3 separate regions of the Homo sapiens genome follow, and regions 1 and 3 are each linked to region 2. Evidence: promoter capture Hi-C in human tissues and cell types (Jung and others, 2019). All regions are on one chromosome and are shown on one strand. Each heading gives the region's core, a stretch centred on a gene start or on the middle of the fragment in contact. The rest is flanking DNA. Distances are from core to core; before and after follow the strand shown. Region 1 overlaps EMILIN2 (elastin microfibril interfacer 2). Region 2 holds the start of MYL12A (myosin light chain 12A). Region 3 overlaps DLGAP1 (DLG associated protein 1).

Evidence for each region. Contacts are between HindIII fragments. The study calls those that stand out against the background at their distance.
Region 1: a contact is called between a fragment that was not itself captured here and the fragment with the promoter of MYL12A in region 2, in 1 of the 25 tissues and cell types used here (lymphoblastoid cells).
Region 3: a fragment that was not itself captured here is called in contact with the fragment with the promoter of MYL12A in region 2 in 1 of the 25 tissues and cell types used here (dorsolateral prefrontal cortex).

Annotation. Positions count from the first base shown.
Region 1 is chr18:2,892,960-2,896,140 of GRCh38, forward strand. All of the region lies in intron 4 of EMILIN2 (elastin microfibril interfacer 2), which reads left to right. Among named protein-coding and RNA genes, the nearest start is that of EMILIN2, 48 kb to the left of the region's middle. The HindIII fragment of the contact is 6,251 bases long and covers 1-3,181 here.
Region 2 is chr18:3,246,551-3,249,649 of GRCh38, forward strand. It overlaps MYL12A (myosin light chain 12A), which reads left to right and starts at 1,251. Exons shown (of 4, transcript NM_006471.4): 1 at 1,251-1,359. It also overlaps a transcript of MYOM1 not described here. RefSeq lists enhancers at 958-1,187, 2,320-2,389 and a silencer at 1,478-1,557. The HindIII fragment of the contact is 15,684 bases long and covers 1-3,099 here.
Region 3 is chr18:3,698,114-3,701,285 of GRCh38, forward strand. All of the region lies in intron 7 of DLGAP1 (DLG associated protein 1), which reads right to left. Among named protein-coding and RNA genes, the nearest start is that of DLGAP1-AS6, 47 kb to the left of the region's middle. The HindIII fragment of the contact is 3,729 bases long and covers 1-3,123 here.

The DNA.
Region 1 (3,181 bases), core at 391-2,890, 350 kb before region 2:
GAGAATTGCTTGAACCTGGGAGGCAGAGGTTAAGGTGAGCCGAGATTGCATCACTGCACTCCAGCCTGGGCAACAGAGTGAGGCTCCATCTCAAATAAATAAACAAACAACATTGCAGTATTTAAGCACATGATCTACGTAATTTACAAAAATATCAGTTCACAACACATTGAAAATAAAAAAGGAAAACTGGTTCTTCCCACAGATGGATAGCCAAATATTATCTGTAGAATCAGGCTGGTGAGCTCAGAGTTGGGGTCAGATTTTTGGCATAACAGCTTGGGGCAGTGGGTGTTGTCCTCTCTTCTACCTAGGGAGTCTCCTACGTACCTCTCTTCAAGCATCACTTTTTATCTGTGTCGTTATCATCTTCAGGGCTTAGCTGATGGCAGATAGGATGCTGTCATATTTGTTTCCAGACACAGGACCGTGGATGAGAGCAGTTTAGGGACAGGAAGTATCTAAAGCTCCATAGTGCCTGCATCCAGGAAGCTCAGCAGTAGTGCTGAGAGCAATGCTGGCTACACCTTAGGCACTCAACAAATGTTTGTTGAATGAATGAATGTGAATGAATGAATAATATATGTAATAAGATTTTTTTGTTACTTGTGGGTGCTAAACGCAGCCTTCTCAAAGGACAGAGCTTCTCTTGTACCTGGGTTTGTACTCTGAGACAGCCTCCGACATAAGCTAGCCCTCTCTAGTCGGAGTCTGGGCGTGAAAGGAAGGAAGAGGGAGCTCGCGTTTTTGAACACTTTCTATGTACAGCACTGGCTTGGTCACTTCAGGGGGACTGAATCCTATCATGGCCTCACAGAAAGGCTGTTTTCCAACAGGGAAAATGTGCCCAAAGTCATGTGGCTGTTCAGTGGGGGAGCCAGGATGGAAACCAGGCCAGGCTGCGTCCAAGAATTGTTTTCTTGCAGTCCAGCCATGATGACTGTGTGTCTCCCAGAACTGAGTGCAGACTTACTTGGTCCATGGGGACTTGTTGAGGGGCCTGCTTTGTGCTAGAAGGAACCTATTCCTGACCTCCCCCTCCCTGTTTTCTTTTCTCCCATCCTTGCCTTTGGGACTTTTACCTCCCTGACCTGGTTCCGCTCTGGGTGACACAGGCCCTTGCACAAGGAACTGAGATTTCATGGCCTCTGTGAACCTTGGGATTTTATGATCAAGTCCCAGATGAGACATAAAACCCAAGGCAGCGTAGGCTAGAACGTGGGAAGCAGGCGAGCTCTGGCTTGGTCAGGGAGAGCCAGGGCCAGGTCCTGGCAGCTCAGGAGGGTGGAGAGGGTCCGAGGTAGGTGGGAAAATGCCCTGGATGTCCCCAGAGCACTGTGCTTATCTTGCAGATGACGAGTCACCTAGGCCCAGGAGGACCAGGAATCTGGCCGCCACCCGAGTGTCCAGCCCACTGCACCTCACTATTTATAACCCAGCCCTTCCCCCACTCCAGGGCCACTCAGCTCCTCTATCTCTGGAATGTTGAGTAGAGGTCACAAGACCATGTATGTGTTCATAGAATGATTGTCCCTTGTGGTGACAACGCTGTCTGGTCTGTGTCTTACGATAACAGGTTGAATCAGATATTTCCAGTTGATTTGGAACTCCCTGGTGGCGTGGGAAGCTGTGTTAACATTTTCGCATTTGTCTGTTGCAGTAGGAGTTGGGGGGTGAATTCTTTTAAAAGAGAATGTGCCATACAAAACATTATCCCTTTGGACTGAACTCATTGTGGTGAGTGTAGACTGCATGGAGTTTTGAGAATTTCATTGATTGGAAAAGAGCCAGAAATAAACAAGCAGAGCCTCCTCTGCCCTTGTCTAGCATCCAGGTCTAGGAGACCTGGAACCTGAGTATCAGAGGTGCATGGGAGAATCTGGAGCTAAGGTCACAATGAAAGTGACATGTCAATCAGTTAAAAGTCAACAGAATGTTTATTGAGTGCCTACGATGTGCAAGGCTCTTGGGGGACCTGGAGATAAGTAGGCATAATCCTTATTCTAAAGCATTTGCAATCACAGTGGGAAAGAGACTCACAGGTCTGCAGAGAGATGAATGAGATTGTTTGTGGCATAGCAGTTTATCCCTTTAGTTCATAAGCTCTTACTGAGCCCCTATTATGTGGTAGGTAATGGCTGTGTGGGGGAGTATGTGGATAAAAGTCTGATGGGGAAACAAGCAGACAGATGGTCACAGGAATGGGGTGTGGTGTGCATGAGCCACCTTGAGTGTTCAGAGAAGCACCCACAGTGGAAGTCAGGGAGGGATTCTCAGGAGAGAGCCCTGAGCTGAGCCCTCAGTGTAGGTATTTACCGAGCAGAGTACAGAGGCTGATGGGGTGAGGAATAAGGTGAGATGAGAGAAGCTTCCAGGAGGAGGTGTTACTGGATCTGATTGAGGGATGGGTGGGATTCAGAAAGCAGGAGGGGAGGACATTGTGGATTAGCTATTTATTGCTTTATAACAACCCATTCCAAATCTTGCTGGCTTAAAACAACAAAGATGTATTAGTTTCCATTATTCTGTAGGTCAGGAACCCCGGCAGGGCTTGGCTCAGCGGTTCTTCTGCTCTATGTGGCATCAGCTTGAGTCGCCCACTCAGCTGCATTCAGCTTGCGGTTGACTGGAAGGTCTGTGAAGACTCAGTCATATGTCTGGTGCCTCGGTGCTCCTCCACCTGGCCCCTCTCTCCATGTGGCCAACCTGGGCTTCCTCACAGCATGGCGGTGTCAAGTAGTCAGACTATGGCGACTGTCAAGGGAAAGTGGAAGCTGCTGGGCCTCCCACAGGCTAGCCCAGAGCTGGAGTGGCATCACTGCCACATTCTATTGTCAAAGCAGGTCTGCTCTTGAAGGGTGACGTGGCTGGTATGTTTGGGGAGGGAAGGGGGATTAATGGTGGTCATGATATCTACCACAGTGAGCACAGATCCAGAGGTGAAGATGTGTGATGGTTTTGGACCAGTAAGCAGATCGCCAGACCGGGAACACACACTGTGGTGTTTCTACTCAGCCTGTTGCCCTCTTCACAGATCCTGTTTCCTTTGGAAGCATCACTGAGGTGAGGCTGAATTATCCAAGAAGCAGCCAACAGGGGAGAAGAAGGGCCTTCAGCTGATGCTTAAATAGATCTAAGTCTCTTTTATATCCTTCTGTTAAGGGCATATATATATATAGCA
Region 2 (3,099 bases), core at 1-2,500:
GTTAACTTTGGAATACGTTAGTGGTTAATACACGGAACGTTCCCGAGATCCCTCAAGAAAGAAGCTACGAATACTTAGAAGATACTATTCCGCGGCGTTTACAGCAACACTGTCCGTTCCAGAAGGATTCAAGTGGCGGCCTGCTTTGAAGGCGAAGACCACAGGGCAACCCAAACTTCAGAAGGGTTCTGGCCACGGGAGCCACACTGGTCACTGTCCCCTAGTGCTGGGATGACGGCTCGAGTGTTAGAGGATCCCACTCTCTCCTCTGGTAGGTGAGGTCAGAGAGCTGAGGGGGCCAGAACAAGTCTTCCTTATCGGATTCTGGGCGGAAAAAGATAAAGTCGGGGAGGACTTTCTCTTTTTAATAAGATTCATCGTTACGAATTGTTCTAGGCAAGCAGACCTCAGGAGAAATAGGCCCAAGTTTTGATTCCTGTTTTCACCAAGTCGCAAGTCCTAATCGTAGCAAGAGGTGCGGGGAAGAGTCGCCTTCCTTCCTGCATAGTGGGATCCAAGTCAGGCTGTCCTTGTTAGCCAGGGTCAAAGGGGCTCTGCCAGGGAAAAACGACGGCAAATGTTTTTCAAGAGGAAGTCTCCAGCCACTTGTGACCTGGGAAATCCGTCTGGGCCAAAAAGATAGTGGAGGCTTGGCTGAGGGCCCCAGGGACACACGTTTCCTCCCGTATGGAGGGGGCGGGACTCTTAATAAAATTACACTGCACACAGAGCTAGCATCAAGATCCGCTCCCGGGATACGCGCACTGCTCCGGGGCCCTCAGGCGGAGACCCAGACCCCGCGCGGGGCGTCAAGCGCAGGCGCACTACCGCCCACAAGCTGGAGCCCGGCTTCGGGGCGGGGCGAGGGTCAGTCACGTGGGCCCGCAGCCCTCTCCTCGATTTCCCTACAAGGACTTGGGCCGACGGGCCCCGCCCTTCGCCGTGCCCTGGAATGTGCGGCCAGGCAAAGCCACAGGACGGACGCAACCATCTGCGGAAAGGATAGGGGGGAGGAAGACTTAACACTGCAACAACAGGTACAAAAAAGAAGGAAACTCAGTAACAGGACCCAGAGGACCATTATATATTGCTCTATATTCTAGGTCGCCCACTTTACACTTCCTTCTCATGCACTTGGTCAATACCACGCCCGCTGACCACACTGGCGACTTCCCTCTCTGTCGCCCCTCCGTGAAGTCAGACCCACTCTGCGGGCCAAGAAAGGTGACCGGGCTTCCTTCCGGCTTGCTAAGCAGAGGCCGGAAGCGGTGGTTTTTAGCGGCTCTCTGGGTAGCAGGGTGGTGTGATAGCGGCAGCGAGGGGCTCGGAGAGGTGCTCGGATTCTCGTAGCTGTGCCGGGTGAGTGGCGCTCGCGTTCGGGCGCGTGAGACCCATCCCGGGGACCCGTCTCCGCGGGGGCAGCTGGAGGGCGGCGGGGCTCCTGGCGCCGGTAGCGCACCTGGGCAGGTGTGCCAGCCAGGTCCCCGGTTCTGGGATCCGAGGCCATGGCTTGGAGTGGCCCAGACCCGAACTTCGCTCCTGTGCCCAAACTTGGAACTCTGGAAATGTGGCTTCGCTCACTGGCGCCTTGAGCTTGGGCGACTGCCGGGCCCGCGAAACCCGACCCCTGCAGAGCTGACTCCGGGACTATTTTAGTTTCTAACGTCAACTTGCCCGATTCAAGAGGGTTTGCGCAAAAACGTAGCCCGTTGTCCCCCTGCTGCAGCTGTTGTTGCAGCTGTGTGGCTGCGTTTAGTAGGAATAACCAACTCAAATTGGGAAGTTCTTCAGCTCAGTATCCGCTCCTGTAATTAGAACTTTTTTTCTTTAAGCGATGAAATTTTGGACAGAGAGATCTGGAGTTTAGTTTGTGACTCGAAGAAAAACTCCAAAATGTAATACCTTGTCCCATTTGGGGGGAAAGTTTGGGCTAATTCAATTCGCCATGGAAGTGTCTTCTTTTTAAAGTAGTTTAGTAGGTATATGAATGTATCTGTCAGTTCTTGAGAGACCTATGGATTTAGCAGAGATTTTAACTTAAGTGCAAAAAGTTTCATATTTAAAGGCGAATAAAGCGAATATTTCTTAAAATTATTGGTATTTGTTTCATGTTCTGGAAGGGCTCTAATAAACGGTAATCAGAAAAGCACTCTATTTTCAAAAGCGAGGCTTTACTGGCAAGTCAGCCCTCACAGCTAATTGTCTTTGTCCAGTGGTGAGAACTTTTGGGTGTGGCAGTCCAAGAGAACGAATCCTACCTTCAACCGGAAGTTTGCATAAGAAATGAAACTTGGTTTACTTGGAACGGAAGCACCAACTTGAAATACACTTTTTAAAAATTGTGGTTAGCACCAGAAAATAAGTTATACTTAGGCTTTTTTTTTTTAAGTGCATTGATTAAATGAGGCGGTATATTTGGTCAGGGTTTAGAAAGCCCACCAAATACTAGGTGCTATCACAGTACGCAGTGTTTTGTAAGATGGTGGTTTTTTCTTGCAGAATGTGTGATATTTCTCAGAATATTATCAATTTGAGTGTTCGTTTTGTAGAAGAAGTTTCTAGGTTATTTTACATTTATTGCCACTTTGTAAATAAATGCTGGACTCTAGGATTCTAACCACAGAACTCTAATGTATATATTGGTATGGATTAATCCCATTTTATAAATGAACATAGTTTCTAGAGATTCTGAAAACTTCTTGTGTCCTTTGGTGTGTGGGGAAAGCCACTTTGAGAATCTCTTCTATTTCTCCCACCTATTAATCTAGTCTAACATTTTCCTTAATCATGTTGTGTATCTCTCGTTACAGCCCACAATGATTCTGAGCTAAAACACAAAATAAAAACCAGATTCATTGCCACCAGCGCTCACCTCGCCTGACTTAAAAAAAAGGTTATGCTCCTTTAGATCTGTAAACTCAGTCTCCTAACTGCCCTTCATCCACTTTCTCATGCATCTGAAATCCTCATATTTTGTAGAAGCCTGTTCTGTAAGTCTCTCTACTTTCCAGTTTCGTACAACAGACACTCCTTGACACCAAGGATCTTTCACTTAATCCCTCAAAAATAAAGACTCGAGCTGGGTGCGGTGGCTCACGC
Region 3 (3,172 bases), core at 9-2,508, 450 kb after region 2:
ACCGCTGGGCCTTGACTCTTTATCCAATTTGCCACTCTGTGTCTTTTAATTGGGGCATTTAGCCTGTTCAAATTTAAGGTTAATACTGTTTGTGTGAATTTGATCCTGTCATTATGATGTTTCCTGGTTATTTTGCCCATTAGTTGAAGCAGTTTCTTCATAGTGTCAATGGTCTTTACAATTTGATATGTTTCTGCAGTGGCTGGTACTGGTTTTTCCTTTCCATCTTTAGTGCTTCCTCCAGGAGCTCTTGTAAGGCAGGCCTGGTGGTGACAAAAATCTCTCAGCATTTGCTTGTCTGTAAAGGATTTTATTTCTTCTTCACTTAAGAAGCTTAGTTTGGCTGGATATGAAATTCTGGGTTGAAAATTCCTTTCTTTAAGAATGTTGAATATTAGCCTCCACTGTCTTCTGGCTTGTAGGGTTTCTGCAGAGAGATCTGCTGTTAGTCTGATGGGCTTCCCTTTGTGGGTAACCCGACCTTTCTCTCTGATGATTATGTGTCTTGGGGTTGCTCTTCTTGAGGAGTATCTTTGTAGTGTTCTCTGTATTTCCTGAATTTGAATGTTGGCCTGTCTTGCTAGGTTAGGGAAGTTCTCCTGGGTAATATCCTGAAGAACGTTTTCCAACTTGGTTCCTTTCTCCCCATCACTTTCAGGTACACCAATCAAACATAAGTTTGGTCTTTTCACATAGTCCCATATTTCTTGGAGGCTTTGTTCATTCCTTTTCATTCTTTCTTCTCTAATCTTGTCTTCATGCTTTATTTCATTAAGTTGATCTTCAATCTCTGATATCCTTTCTTCCGCTTGATCGATTTGGCTATTGATACTTGTGTATGCTTCACGAAGTCCTCGTGCTGTGTTTCTCAGCTACATCAGGTCATTTATGTTCTTCTCTAATCTGGTTATTCTAGCTATCAATTCCTCTAACCTTTTTTCAAGGTTCTTAGCTTCCTTGCATTGGGTTAGAACACGCTCCTTTTGCTCGGAGGAGTTTGTTATTACCCAACTTCTGAAGCCTACTTCCATCAATTCGTCAAACTCATTCTCCATCCAGTTTTGTTCCCTTGCTGGCGAGGAGTTGTGATCCTTTGGAGGAGAAGAGGCATTCTGGTTTTCGGAATTTTCAGCCTTTTTGCACTGGTTTTTCCTCATCTTCGTGGATTTATCTACCTTTGGTCTTTGATGTTGGTGACTTTCAGATGGGGTTTTTGTGTGGATGTCCTTTTTGTTGATGTTGATGCTATTCCTTTCTGTTTGTTAGTTTTCCTTCTAACCTGCCCTCTGCTGTAGGTCTGCTGGAGTTTTCTGGAGGTCCGCTCCAGATCCTGTTGCCTGGGTATCACCAGCGGAGGCTGCAGAACAGCAAAGATTGCTGTTCTTTCCTCTGGAAGCTTCATCCCAGAGGGGCATCTGCCAGATGACAGCCAGAGCTCTCCTGTATGTGGTGTCTGTTGACTCCTGCTGGGAGGTATCTCCCAGTCAGGAGGCATGGGGGTCAGGGACCCACTTGAGGAAGCAGAGTGTCCCTTAGCAGAGCTTGAGCACTGTGCTGGGAGATCCACTGCTCTCTTCAGAGCTGTCAGACAGAAACGTTTAAGCCTGCTGAAGCTGTCTCCATAGCTGCCCCTTCCCCCAGGTGCTCTGTCCCAGGGAGATGGGAGTTTTACTTATAGGCCCCTGACTGGGGCTGCTGCGTTTCTTTCAGAGATGCCCTGCCCAGAGAGGAGGAAGCTAGAGAGGCAGTCTGGCTACAGTGGCTTTGCTGAGCTGCGGTTCAAACTTCCCCATGGCTTTGTTTACACTGTGAAGGGAAAACTGCCTACTCAAGCCTCAGCAATGGTGGACGCCCCGCCCCTGACCAAGCTCAAGCGTCCCAGGTGGACTTCAGGCTGCTGTTCTGGCAATGAGAATTTCAAGCCAGTGGATCTTAGCTTGCTAGGCTCTCTGGGGGTGGGATCCGCTGAGCTAGACCACTTGGCTCCCTGGCTTCAGCCCCCTTTCCAGGGTAGTGAAAGATTCTGTCTCGCTGGTGTTCCAGGCACCACTGGGGTATGAAAAAACTCCCGCAGCTAGCTAGGTGTCTGTCTAAATAGCCACCCAGTTTTTGTGCTTGAAACCCAGGGCCCTGGTGGTGTAGGCACCCAAGGGAATCTCCTGGTTTGCGGGCTGTGAAGACCATGGGAAAAGCATAGTATCTGAGCCGGAACGCACTGTTCCTCACAGCACAGTCCCTCAAGGCTTCCTTCGGCTAGGGGAGGAAGTTCCTCAACCCCTTGTGCTTCCCGAGTAAGGCAAAACCCCACCCTGCTTCAGCTCGCCCTCTGTGGGCTATACCCACTATCTAACCAGTCCCAGTGAGATGGGCCGTGTACCTCAGCTGGAAATGCAGAAATCACCTGCCTTCTGTGTTGATCTCACTGGGAGCTGCAGACTGGAGCTGTTCCTATTCAGCCATCTTGCCAGCCACCTAGCATTTTATTTTATTTTTTTAAAATTTTAATTGTTTTTTGAGACAGAGTCTCTGTCTGTTGCCCAGGCTGGAGTGCAGTGGTGTGATCTCAGCTCACTGCAAGCTCTACCTCCCAGGTTCACGCCATTCTCCTGCCTCAGCCTCCCGAGTAGCTGGGACTACAGGCGCCCACCACCACGCCCGGCTAATTTTTTGTACTTTTGGTAAAGACGGGGTTTCACCGTTTTAGCCAGGATGGTCTCTGTCTCTTGACCTCATGATCCGCCCACCTCGGCCTCCCAAAATGGTGGAATTACAGGGGTGAGCCATCACGCCCAGCCGACTTTGTTGCCCAGGCTGGAATGCAGTAGTGGGATCATAGCTTACTGCAGCCTTGACCTCCTGGGCTTACGTGATCCTCCTGCTTCAGCCTCCTTAGTAGCTAGGACTACAGGAGTGCACTCTGCCATACCAGGCTAAGTTTTAAATTTTTTGTTGAGGTGGGGTTGTGCTATGTTACCCAGGCTGGTCTTGAATTCCTGGCTCAAATGATCTTCCAGGCTCGGCCTCCCAAAGTGCTGGGACTATAGGTGTGACCCACAGCACCTGGCCTGATGATGGCTTTTTAAGTGTACTAATGATCTCATCAGAGGAGCCAAATGCCACATGACTCAAGAAGAAAGAACCAAACAGTCCGGATCCAGGGTGAAAGCCTTCT